Linked DNA regions of Homo sapiens: all the other regions are linked to region 4. Evidence: promoter capture Hi-C in 16 types of primary human blood cells and fetal thymus (Javierre and others, 2016). All regions are on one chromosome and are shown on one strand. Each heading gives the region's core, a stretch centred on a gene start or on the middle of the fragment in contact. The rest is flanking DNA. Distances are from core to core; before and after follow the strand shown. Region 1 overlaps TLN1 (talin 1). Region 2 has its middle 14 kb from the start of CD72. Region 3 holds the start of SIT1 (signaling threshold regulating transmembrane adaptor 1). Region 4 holds the start of PIGO (phosphatidylinositol glycan anchor biosynthesis class O).

Region 1 (2,700 bases), core at 171-2,670, 620 kb before region 4:
GCTAGCTTCCGGGTGTGTGATGGGGAGAGGGGGTGCAAGTGTGCACAGGCATGCATGTGACTGGCTTCATGTGTGACTGTGCCTTGACTCACTGTGGAAGGGACTGTGTGTGTGCGTCTTTCTGTGGACATGTGTGTGACTAACTGGGTGTGACTTTGCTCCCTCCCCAGCCCTTCGTCTGGCCTGCCCTGTCTCTCATGTTCCTCTTTCTCCTTTTCCCCTTAGGGGACCCTGCTGAGACAGACTATACCGCAGTGGGCTGTGCAGTCACCACAATCTCCTCCAACCTGACGGAGATGTCCCGTGGGGTGAAGCTGCTGGCTGCCTTGCTGGAGGACGAAGGCGGCAGTGGTCGGCCCCTGTTGCAGGCAGCAAAGGGCCTTGCGGGAGCAGTGTCAGAACTGCTGCGCAGTGCCCAACCAGCCAGTGCTGAGGTCAGGGGCCACAGGTTTGGGTTAGGGTGGAGACAGGGTTCAAGCCCAAGGAGAAGGGGCAGTCCAAGCCACAGGATGGAAGCCTGGGTCCCGTGGGCCTGTGATATGCACAGGCATGTGGGCAGGGATTGGGCAGCTTCTGACTGGTGTTCACTCTCCACAGCCCCGTCAGAACCTGCTGCAAGCAGCTGGGAACGTGGGCCAGGCCAGTGGGGAGCTGTTGCAACAAATTGGGGAAAGTGATACTGACCCCCACTTCCAGGTTGGTGACTTACCCAACCCCCCAGAACCCCAGAATCTAGGAAGTAACTTCTGCTCGTGAATCCAGTTCCTAGTCCTGGCTTCTGTGAATTGACCCCTAAAAACCAATCTGAACCTCTATTTCCAGGGGATGATACTAGTAACTTCTGATCTCTCTTTTAGGGGTTAGAATTCAGAACCCCTGAATCCAAACTTAACCTGCTAGTTTACTCTTGGCCCTCATTTATTCTTTAGCCCCTTGTCATCTTTTCTCTCTCTTCCCCGTACATAGCCCTTGCCCCAATTTGAGGACCCCCCACAATGCTATAGACCATGCCACCCTGAGAATAGTGTTCCTCTAGCTCTCCCCCTTCCCGCTCCATGCCAATTTCCTCAGCTGACTTTTCACCCTGGATTTCCCATGCAGATATGTGCATCCAGAGGGGCTGGGGTTCGATCTCCCCCCGATTCCCCTACGGTAACAGCCTCTGGCCTGGGCCTTCCCAGCTTTGTCCTCTCTGAGCCGCATACACTCGTTTCTGTACTTCTTCCTCAGCCTCCTGGGGGACCAGAACTTGGTGGGAGATGAGGAGGCCTGGCGAAGCCAGGCTTTGGGAAATGGGATCAGGTAGGGTAGTACAGGGACTTGCTCCCAAGACTCCAGGATGACCACTTCCAATCCAAGATCAAGAAGTGGAGTAAAGAAGCTGGGGGTGGAGGGATCCCAGGAGATACCTCCTACCTCCTCTCCCCACCCCATTGTAACAGCGCCACCACATTGTCTCCCCGTCATCATCGAGTGTATCCGCCTCATGTGTGTCTCCATTTGGTGTAGGCTGTATTTTCTCTTGGTGTGGGTTTGTTCCTCGGTGGGGGTTCTGTCCTGCTGGGTGCTCAGGGCAGTAGCTCGGGGTAGGTTCTGGTTGCTTCTGCGTACACTCTCCTTTGATTGGATCAGTGGGAATAATGAAGCAGCTTACGCCTCTGAGAAGTGTCTGTGAATCCCAAGCCCAATCTCAGGTCATGCTAACTGCTGTTTTCTCACAGGATGCGCTAATGCAGCTCGCCAAAGCTGTGGCAAGTGCTGCAGCTGCCCTGGTCCTCAAGGCCAAGAGTGTGGCCCAGCGGACAGAGGACTCGGGACTTCAGACCCAAGTTATTGCTGCAGCAACACAGTGTGCCCTATCCACTTCCCAACTAGTGGCCTGTACTAAGGTGAGCCCCAAAGGTTGCTCTAGTCCGTGCTGAGGGGTAATACTACCACACACACGTGAGCCTTTCATTTTATTTCTTTGGCTCTGGAGGCCTCCTCACCCATCCCAGTTACTGCTATGAGCAGCATACTCTACCTCCTTTCCCTTGCCTACGTCTCTGACATTCACTTTACCTACAGGTGGTGGCACCTACAATCAGCTCACCTGTCTGCCAAGAGCAACTGGTGGAGGCTGGACGACTGGTAGCCAAAGCCGTGGAGGGCTGTGTGTCTGCCTCCCAGGCAGCTACAGAGGATGGGCAACTGTTGCGAGGGGTAGGAGCAGCAGCCACAGCTGTCACCCAGGCCCTAAATGAGCTGCTGCAGCATGTGAAAGCCCATGCCACAGGGGCTGGGCCTGCTGGCCGTTATGACCAGGCTACTGACACCATCCTAACCGTCACTGAGAACATCTTTAGCTCCATGGGTGATGCTGGTAAGACACGCACCCCCAGGAAAACAAAAAACCCTACCAGGGTTCCCTAAGCCCACTGGACATCATCCCCTTGCGGACCTAACCACTTCACCCCAAGGAACTCAGCACAGTGTGGGCTTGCCAGCCACACAACCATAGGCTCATCATTAAAGCTCTCTGAACCCTCTGCTTCCCCTTCTGTAAAAGGAATATTAAGTCCTCTACCTTCCCTGGAGCATTTAAAGAATATACCAAAGTACGCACAAAAATATATAGAAAGTGACATGAAAGTGGTATAGCCTTCCCTACTATACCCCTGACCCCAAAAGTTTTCAGAGAGTGTCTCATCTTCTCAAGGC
Region 2 (2,700 bases), core at 120-2,619, 540 kb before region 4:
GAAAATCAAATACATCACTCATTACAGTAAATAAAAGCGGACTGAAATCTACCATTAAAAGACTGTCAGATTTTGTTATAAATCAAATTTAGGCACACATTACTTAAGAGAAACACACTTAAAGTGATAAAGTTTTAAAATAAAGACATGGAAAGAGATACCAGGCAAATATTAAATATTATTTTAAAAACCAGAGGCTATATACAGACAATCCCCGACTTAACAATGGTTTAACTTAGGATTCTTTGACTTTACGATGGGTTTATCAGGGTATTAAATGCATTTTCGACTAACATTACTTTCTACTTATGATGGGTTTTTCGGAACGTAGTCCCATCCTAAGTCAAGGAACATCTGTACTGATATCAAACAAGAGAAATTTAAGTTACGGGCTGGGGGAGGTGGGAGAAGACTTCCTGCAAAGGGATAGGAGGATTTTGGGAGAGATAGGAAGGTTTTGTATCTTAATTGTGGTGGTAATTACACAACTGAATACACTTGTCAAAACTCATAGGATTGTACACTTAAAATGGATCAATTTGTTGTATATAAATTACAATGCAATAAAACTGGTTTTTAAAAAAAGAATGAAAATACTATGTTCACAAAATAAAAATGTGAAATGAGAAAACAGCGTAACATGAGAAACTCTCTCAATTACCCTGTATCATATATTATACTGTCAAAAAGATAGCAAGCTTTAAACAACACACGCACAGGAAAAATAAAGGGAGCACTTATTTCAAGAAATTATGAAAAGAATAAGAAAAGAAATCAAATCAGAAAATAATAACTAAAGCTAACACTAATGAAATGAAAAAAAAAAAACAAAAAACAAAAATACTAAGAAGGCCCAGGCACAGTGGCTCATGCCTGTAATCCCAGCGCTTTGGGAAGCCAAGGCGGGAGAATCACTTGAGCTTAGGAGTTCGAAACCAGCCTGGGCAACATGGTGAAACCCCATCTCTGAAGAAAAAAAAAAAAAAGTACAAAAATTAGCCAGGCATGGTGGTGTACGCCTGTAGTCCCAGCTACTTGGGAGGCTGAGATGGGAGGTTAGATTGAGCCCAGGAGGTGGAGGTTGCAGTGAGCTGAGATTGCACCACTGCACTCCAGCCAGGGCAACAGAGCCACACCCTGTCTCAAAAAGAAAAAAAAAAAAAAACTAAAAAGGATAAATAAATCCAAAAAATTGTCTTTTAAAAGAGCTAATAAGGCTGGGCACAGTGGCTCGTGCCTGAAATCCCAGCACTTTGGTAGGCTGAGGCAGGCAGATCACCTGAGGTCAGGAGTTTGAGACCAGCCTGGCCAACACGGTGAAAACCTGTCTCTCCTAAAAAATACAAAAATTAGCAGGGTGCAGTGGCAGACACCTGTAACCCCAGCTACTTGGGAGGCTGAGGAAGGAGAATCGTTTGAACCCAGGAGGTAGAGGTTGCAGTGAGCCGAGATGGTGCCACTGCACTCCAGCCTGGGCGACAGAGTAAGGCTCCCTCTCGAAAAAAAAAAAAAAGCTAATAAAATAAACCTCTTGCAAGCCAAATTAAAGGGGGAAAAAGAGAGAAAGATTAAATAGACAAGATTAGTTATGAGAAAGAAAACATTCTTACAAATAGAGGAGAAGGCCGGGCACAGTGGCTCAAGCCTGTAATCCCAGCACTTTGGGAGGCCGAGGCGGGCGCATCACGAGGTCAGGAGGTCAAGACCATCCTGGCTAACACGGTGAAACCCCGTCTCTACTAAAAATACAAAAAATTAGGCGTGGTGGTGGGCACCTGTAATCCCAGCTACTCGGGAGGCTGAGGCAGAATGGCGTGAACCCGGAAGACGGAGCTTGCAGTGAGCCGAGATCGCGCCACTGCACTCCAGCCTGGGTGACAGAGCGATACTCCGTCTCAAAAAAAAAAAAAGAGGAGAAAATTGAAGAATTATAAAACAGTACAACTGAAAATCAACCAATTTGAAAATTTAGAGGAAATGGATATCTTTCAAGAAATATATAAATTACCAAAATTGACCCAGGAGAAAGAGGAAAGCTTGAAGAGCCCAACTTATTTTAGAAAAGACTGCAATAGGAAGGTGATGAGAGACTCCTTTTGGGAAATACTGCATTCACATGGCACCAGATATGAGTTTTTTCTAACCTTAAATAATAATTTCTATGCCATTTATTTATTTTTATTTATTTATTTATTTATTTTGAGTGGAGTCTGGCTCTGTAGCCCAAGCTGGAGTGCAGTGGCTCGGCGATCTCGGCTCACTGCAAGCTCCGTCTCCCGGGTTCACGCCATTCTCCTGCCTCAGCCTCCCGAGTAGCTGGGATTACAGGTGCCCACCACCACGCCTAATTTTTTGTATTTTTAGTAGAGACGGGGTTTCACCGTGTTAGCCAGGATGGATCTCGATCTGCTGACGTCGTGATCCGCCCGCCTCGGCCTCCCAAAGTGTTGGGATTACAGGCGTGAGCCACCGCGCCCAGCCGTTCTATGCCGTTTAAACTGGTCAAGAGTATAGAAAACGAAGAAAGGCTCCAAGATTTAATTGTAAAGCTAGTACATCTTGATACTATTCCCAAAAAAACTCTAAGTAAAAAAGAAAAAGAGGAAAACTGCTTAAATATAATAAAGACTAGTTACTAAAACCTAAAAGCAAATATGGTTCTCAATGGTGAAACACTGAAACCACTTCAATTAAAATAAA
Region 3 (2,700 bases), core at 1-2,500, 550 kb before region 4:
GGCTCATGCCTGTAATTCCAGCACTTTGGGAGACCGAGGTGGGCAGGTTGCTTGAGGTCAGGAGTTGAGACCAGCCTGGCAACACAGGGAGACCTATCTCTACAAAAAATGAACTAGATTAGCTGGGTGTGGTGGCACATGCCTGTAGTCCTAGCTGCTTAGGTGGCTGAGATGGGAGGATCACTTGAGCCCGGGAGATCGTCAAGGCTGCAGTGAGCTGAGATTGTGTTACTGCACTCCAACCTGGGAGACAAAGTAAGACCCTGTCTCAAAAAAAATATAAAACTTAGATCCATAAAATATTTTTCAGGGAGGATAATTTTATCACTGATTTTTTTTTTCAGAATTTCTGGAACATGGTGATAATAAGAGGACTGATTTTTATTTTTTAAATTCTCTACAGACAATGCACCCCCTTATTGCCTGCAACTCAAGGGGCAGGACTTCTGCCATCCCTATTGTTGGCATGCCACTGCACTGATTTTAAACTTTTAAAAAATGTTGTATGGGCTAGACAAAACACATCTCTGACTTCTGGTCTCAGGTTTATATTTGCAACTTAAAATCCCTCTTCCTACATCAATAGCCTTGCACGTGATGGAGTTAGCTCTAGGTATGGCAGGTACTACACCCGCTGAAGTGAACATGTGCAAGATAGGGCTCAGTTTCCCAGGACAGTCCTACAGCAAAGAGTTTTAAAATGCAATTAATTATTGAGAGTGACAGTTCTTACAGACAGTTTGGATGAAGTGGGTTGAAAGGGGAGGTTTGGGGGTGTCCCCCAAATTATAATGCCCCCAATGAAACAATAACAAGCATCATCTAAACACATATCCTCTCAGATCAGCCTTAGGGTGTGATGGGATCAGAGGTACCAGGAGGCTCCCCCGACCCTTCCACTTTATACCATACTCATTGAGGAATACATCTTTCTTCTGGGACCAGAGTCAGGGAGGAAGGTGGGCATCCTGGAGCAGAAGGGGTGTTCCTGTCCTTGTTAGTCCTGCTTCACACCACTTCTGCCCCCACCCCCCGCCCTCAGAGTCCTCAGGGACTCAACTGCCCGTGGCACATTACCCACAGGCCTGCTTCTCTTCTCAAGGGGGGCAAAGGGCCTGGGCAGCGAGGGTGGGGGAAGCTCAGGAGCTGCAGGAGTGGCGCAGGTGCAGGCACAGGGCGGGGTCTTTGTTCTTTTTTTCATCCCTCCCCTCCCCCTTCCTCCCCGGAAACCAGAGACTTTGCCACCACCAGTATTGGGGATGCTGAGCTGCGGGGTACGGGCCTGAGGAGGGATGGGAGTAAGAAGTGCTGTGGAAACCGTCAGGCCATGAACCAGGCTGACCCTCGGCTCAGAGCAGTGTGCTTGTGGACTCTCACATCTGCAGCCATGAGCAGAGGCGACAACTGCACGGATCTACTCGCACTGGGTGAGCTGGGCAGGGCAGGGGCTGGTGGGGGAGGGGTCATGTGGCCCCAGGTCCCACCTGCTGGGCCCTGGGGGTGGGGCGGGGCTGTTACACCCCCCTTCCTTTCACATCCACAGGAATCCCCTCCATAACCCAGGCCTGGGGACTGTGGGTCCTCTTAGGGGCTGTGACGCTGCTATTTCTCATCTCGCTGGCTGCACACTTGTCCCAGTGGACCAGGGGCCGGAGCAGGAGCCATCCGGGGCAGGGACGGTGGGTGAAGGACAACAGGGATGGGTTGACTGAGAGTTCTCTCTTACCGAGAAGTCCCCACTCATCCCCTAAACTCTGCGTTGCAGCTCTGGAGAGTCTGTGGAAGAGGTCCCGCTGTATGGGAACCTGCATTATCTACAGACAGGTAGGGAGCTGGCAGAGAGGAGGGGCACAGAGGCCAGGTCCTGGGTGGCTGGGATGGGGGCGTGCAGGAGGAAGGACAAGTTGCTGACCAGATTCCTGTTCCCCGTCCCAGGACGGCTGTCTCAAGACCCAGAGCCAGACCAGCAGGATCCAACTCTTGGAGGCCCTGCCAGGGTGAGTCAACTGTGGCTGGAGAAAAGGGGGAGGGAAGGAAGTGGGGGGCTTTTCGGGCTTTTCCGAGGGTCCAGTGAACTTCTAACAGCCTTGCATCTCCAGGCTGCAGAGGAGGTGATGTGCTATACCAGCCTGCAGCTGCGGCCTCCTCAGGGTCGGATCCCCGGTCCTGGAACCCCCGTCAAGTACTCGGAGGTGGTGCTGGACTCTGAGCCAAAGTCCCAGGCCTCGGGCCCCGAGCCGGAGCTCTATGCCTCAGTATGTGCCCAGACCCGCAGGGCCCGGGCCTCCTTCCCGGATCAGGCCTATGCCAACAGCCAGCCTGCAGCCAGCTGAGATGGAGGGCCTGGCACAGCGGGGCGTGCACTGCCCCAGCCCCCCGTAGCAGGGGCATGACTGTTTCCCAACCAGCACCCAAAGACGGGCGCCATTGCCAAGTCACAGGATGTGATCTACCCCGGACTTCCTATCTGAGCTTCAAGGGAGACATCTCAGGGCAAAGCTTTCGTGATGGAGGAGGCAAAGACAGTAGCCCCCTCCTTATTTCTTTTTTCTATCTGTTCCTCTTAGCCCCCAAACTCCCAGGTTCTCACTTCCTTCTTCTGGAGTTTAACCAGATCCTCCCCACCCCCGCTCCCTCATAGTCTACCCCCACGCCTCAGTGTCTCCTCAGGCACAGGAAGTGGGCGGTGGGGGAGGGGTA
Region 4 (2,702 bases), core at 203-2,702:
ACCTCAATGAGCTCACATTCTACTCGGAGGGGATAAACCATAAATACGTGTAGAATTTCAGATGCTGATGAGTTGTGCTATGGAAGAAATTAAGGAAGTGAGGGGAAATTTTTCCAGGGGGTGTGGTGGTGGGAGGTGCTGAACTAGTAAAGTAGGGGATTGCAGGAAGCCTTGCTGATGTTACAGTTGAGCTTCAATATGAAGGTGATGGAGATCCATTTCGGCATCGGGAACTGAAGCTGACAGAGGAGATGGCAAATGCAAAGGTCCTGAGGCAGAACTGCTGTGGATGGAACAGAGTTAGGGAAGCAAAGAAGTGGCAGCTAGATGAATCAGAAGGGGAAGAGGCAGATAGTGTGCAGGGCCATGTAGAGCCAATGCAAGAACTTTTACTCTGAGATGAGAAACCAGTGGACGGGTTTTGTTTCTTTTTGAGACAGAGTCTTGCTCTGTTGCCTAGGCTGGAGTGCAGTAGCACGATCTCAGCTCACTGTAGCCTCTGCCTCCTGGCTTCAAGCAATTGTCCAGTCTCAGCCTCCTCAGTAGCTGGGACTACAGGTACACATCGCCACGCCTGGCTAAATTTTGTAATTTTTAGTAGAGTTGGGGTTTCAGCATGTTGGCCAGGCTGGTCTCCAATTCCTGACTTCAACTGATTCTCCAGCCTCAGCCTCCCAAAGTGCTGGGCTTACAGGTGTGAGTCATCGTGCCTGGCATTTTTTTTTTTTTTTTTGAGAGGGAGTCTTGCTCTGTTGCCCAGGCTGGAGTGCAGTGGTGCAATCTCGGCTCACTGCAACCTCTGCCTCCTGGGTTCGAGTGATTCTCCTGCCTCAGCCTCCCAGGTATCTGGGATCACAGGCGCCCGCCACCACTCCCGGGTAACTTTTGTATTTTCAGTAGAGACGGCGTTTCGTCATATTGGCCGGGCTGGTCTTGAACTCCTGACCTTAGGTGATCCACCTGCCTTGACCTCCCAAAGTGCTGGGATTACAGGTGTGAACCACTGGGCCCAGCCTCCCCTCCTCCACTCCGAAGGATTATTTGCTTAATTATTCAGTCGTAAGATTTAGTTACAGGCTTTGAAAGGAGGAGTAATGAAATCTCAGTTGGACTCAGCTAAGCAAAAAAGGGAAAATAAGTATTATCTCCATTTTACAGATGAGGTAATGCCTAATGATGACAATATGTGCGGCCAAGCTAGGATTCAAGTCAAGTTTGACTCCAGCAGCCGTGCTCTTAGTCGTAACCATGAATGGACAGTGGTTCCCTGAACTCTTCCTCCAGCTTGGTCCCCTGTCCCCAATTTTCAATTACTAAATATCCCATCAAACTGGGGCCAGCCCCACGCTCCTGGCCAAACTTCCACCGAGGTGCCGGCAGATGGCGATGGAGCCACCGACGGGCCACTCTGTCTGGCGCACGCATCTCTGTGCTGCCAGGTCGCAGGCGCCGCCGCCGCCGCACTTCCGGGTGCCATTGCAGGTGAGCCAGGGTCTCCCGAGAACCTCACCCCCCGGTATTCCCCTCACCCTGAAGTAAGGGAGTCTCCCTCTTCCCCTCAGCTCCTAACCAAGGTGCTCAGTACCGCGGCTAGGGTGCCCAGCGGGAGGCTGGGTAGTTACCGGAGGAGGCAGAGCCGGTCGCACGCCTGGGTCCCAGCGGAGGCCCAGTCGACTCTCGACCCGGGCCCCAGCCTCCTTGCGTGGCGAAGGTCGTGCCTCAGGTCTCCTGGCGAACCTGGCCGCCCGGAAGCGGAGAGTGACTCCTCCCCTTCGTCCCCTCGGTGCCCGCCAGGCGGCGCCGTCGGCTGGGCCCGGATTCCCCTGCGGCTTCGATCCCTTTCCACTGGGTATTGAGATTGGCGAGGGGAGAGGCGCAGAAACGGCGTGTAAGAGAGCCTGACTACCAATTGGAATAAGTTTCCCTCCTGACTGTTCACATGTACAGGCAGCATTAGCATTTCCTGCCTGTACATGTGAACGTTCCTATGCTCTACCCCTCGAAGATCCTGATTCAGTAGATCTGGGGTGGGACCTCATGAAACGGCGTCTCCCTCTGTTGTCCAGACTCTAGTGCAGTGGTTCAATCTCGGCTCACTGCAACCTCCGCCTCCCCGATTCAAGCGATTCTCCTGCGTCAGCCTCCCCAGTAGCTGAGACTACAGGTGCCCGCCACCCATTTTTGTATTTTTAGTAGGGACGGGGTTTCGCCATTTTGGCCAGGCTGGTCTCGAACTCCTCACCTCAGGTGATCCGCCCGCCTCGGCCTCCCAAAGTGCTGGGATTACAGGCGTGAGCCACCATGCCCAGCCTGGAAATAGGAGGAGAGTAATATTGCGAGGGGTTGGCTGTGAAATGGTTTATCTCCAGGAAGGTTTCCGGGAGGAAGTGATTCTAGCTGGGCTTGTATTCAGGGACCAGAATATCCACTGGTTCTTTGCCCCACAGTAATGAATTTACTTCCCCACCCCTATCAGGATGCAGAAAGCCTCAGTGTTGCTCTTCCTGGCCTGGGTCTGCTTCCTCTTCTACGCTGGCATTGCCCTCTTCACCAGTGGCTTCCTGCTCACCCGTTTGGAGCTCACCAACCATAGCAGCTGCCAAGAGCCCCCAGGCCCTGGGTCCCTGCCATGGGGGAGCCAAGGGAAACCTGGGGCCTGCTGGATGGCTTCCCGATTTTCGCGGGTTGTGTTGGTGCTGATA

What was found. Contacts are between HindIII fragments. The CHiCAGO score rates a contact against its expected background, and 5 or more counts as called.
Region 1: a contact is called between a fragment that was not itself captured here and the fragment with the promoter of PIGO in region 4, in 1 of 17 cell types (M2 macrophages). The highest score is 5.5, in M2 macrophages.
Region 2: a fragment that was not itself captured here is called in contact with the fragment with the promoter of PIGO in region 4 in 1 of 17 cell types (megakaryocytes); the score reaches 5.5 in megakaryocytes.
Region 3: a contact is called between the fragment with the promoter of SIT1 here and the fragment with the promoter of PIGO in region 4, in 6 of 17 cell types (neutrophils, non-activated CD4 T cells, M1 macrophages and 3 more). The highest score is 7.0, in neutrophils.

Annotation. Positions count from the first base shown.
Region 1 is chr9:35,716,808-35,719,507 of GRCh38, reverse strand. It overlaps TLN1 (talin 1), which reads left to right. Exons shown (of 57, transcript NM_006289.4): 16 at 226-434; 17 at 598-696; 18 at 1,722-1,889; 19 at 2,068-2,362. Among named protein-coding and RNA genes, the nearest start is that of MIR6852, 7.4 kb to the right of the region's middle. The HindIII fragment of the contact is 7,135 bases long and covers 1-2,700 here.
Region 2 is chr9:35,631,393-35,634,092 of GRCh38, reverse strand. It overlaps a transcript of CD72 not described here. Among named protein-coding and RNA genes, the nearest start is that of CD72, 14 kb to the right of the region's middle. The HindIII fragment of the contact is 1,338 bases long and covers 701-2,038 here.
Region 3 is chr9:35,649,481-35,652,180 of GRCh38, reverse strand. It overlaps SIT1 (signaling threshold regulating transmembrane adaptor 1), which reads left to right and starts at 1,250. Exons shown (of 5, transcript NM_014450.3): 1 at 1,250-1,427; 2 at 1,544-1,679; 3 at 1,766-1,824; 4 at 1,936-1,997; 5 at 2,100-2,700. The coding sequence starts at 1,328. The coding sequence ends at 2,333. RefSeq lists a silencer at 1,470-1,539 and an enhancer at 2,450-2,499. The HindIII fragment of the contact is 5,575 bases long and covers 1-2,501 here.
Region 4 is chr9:35,095,341-35,098,042 of GRCh38, reverse strand. It overlaps PIGO (phosphatidylinositol glycan anchor biosynthesis class O), which reads left to right and starts at 1,452. Exons shown (of 11, transcript NM_032634.4): 1 at 1,452-1,888; 2 at 2,477-2,702. The coding sequence starts at 2,478. PIGO-AS1 (PIGO antisense RNA 1) reads right to left here and starts at 1,739. Exons shown (of 2, transcript NR_186491.1): 1 at 1,623-1,739; 2 at 1-283. RefSeq lists an enhancer at 1,446-1,785. The HindIII fragment of the contact is 7,045 bases long and covers 1-2,702 here.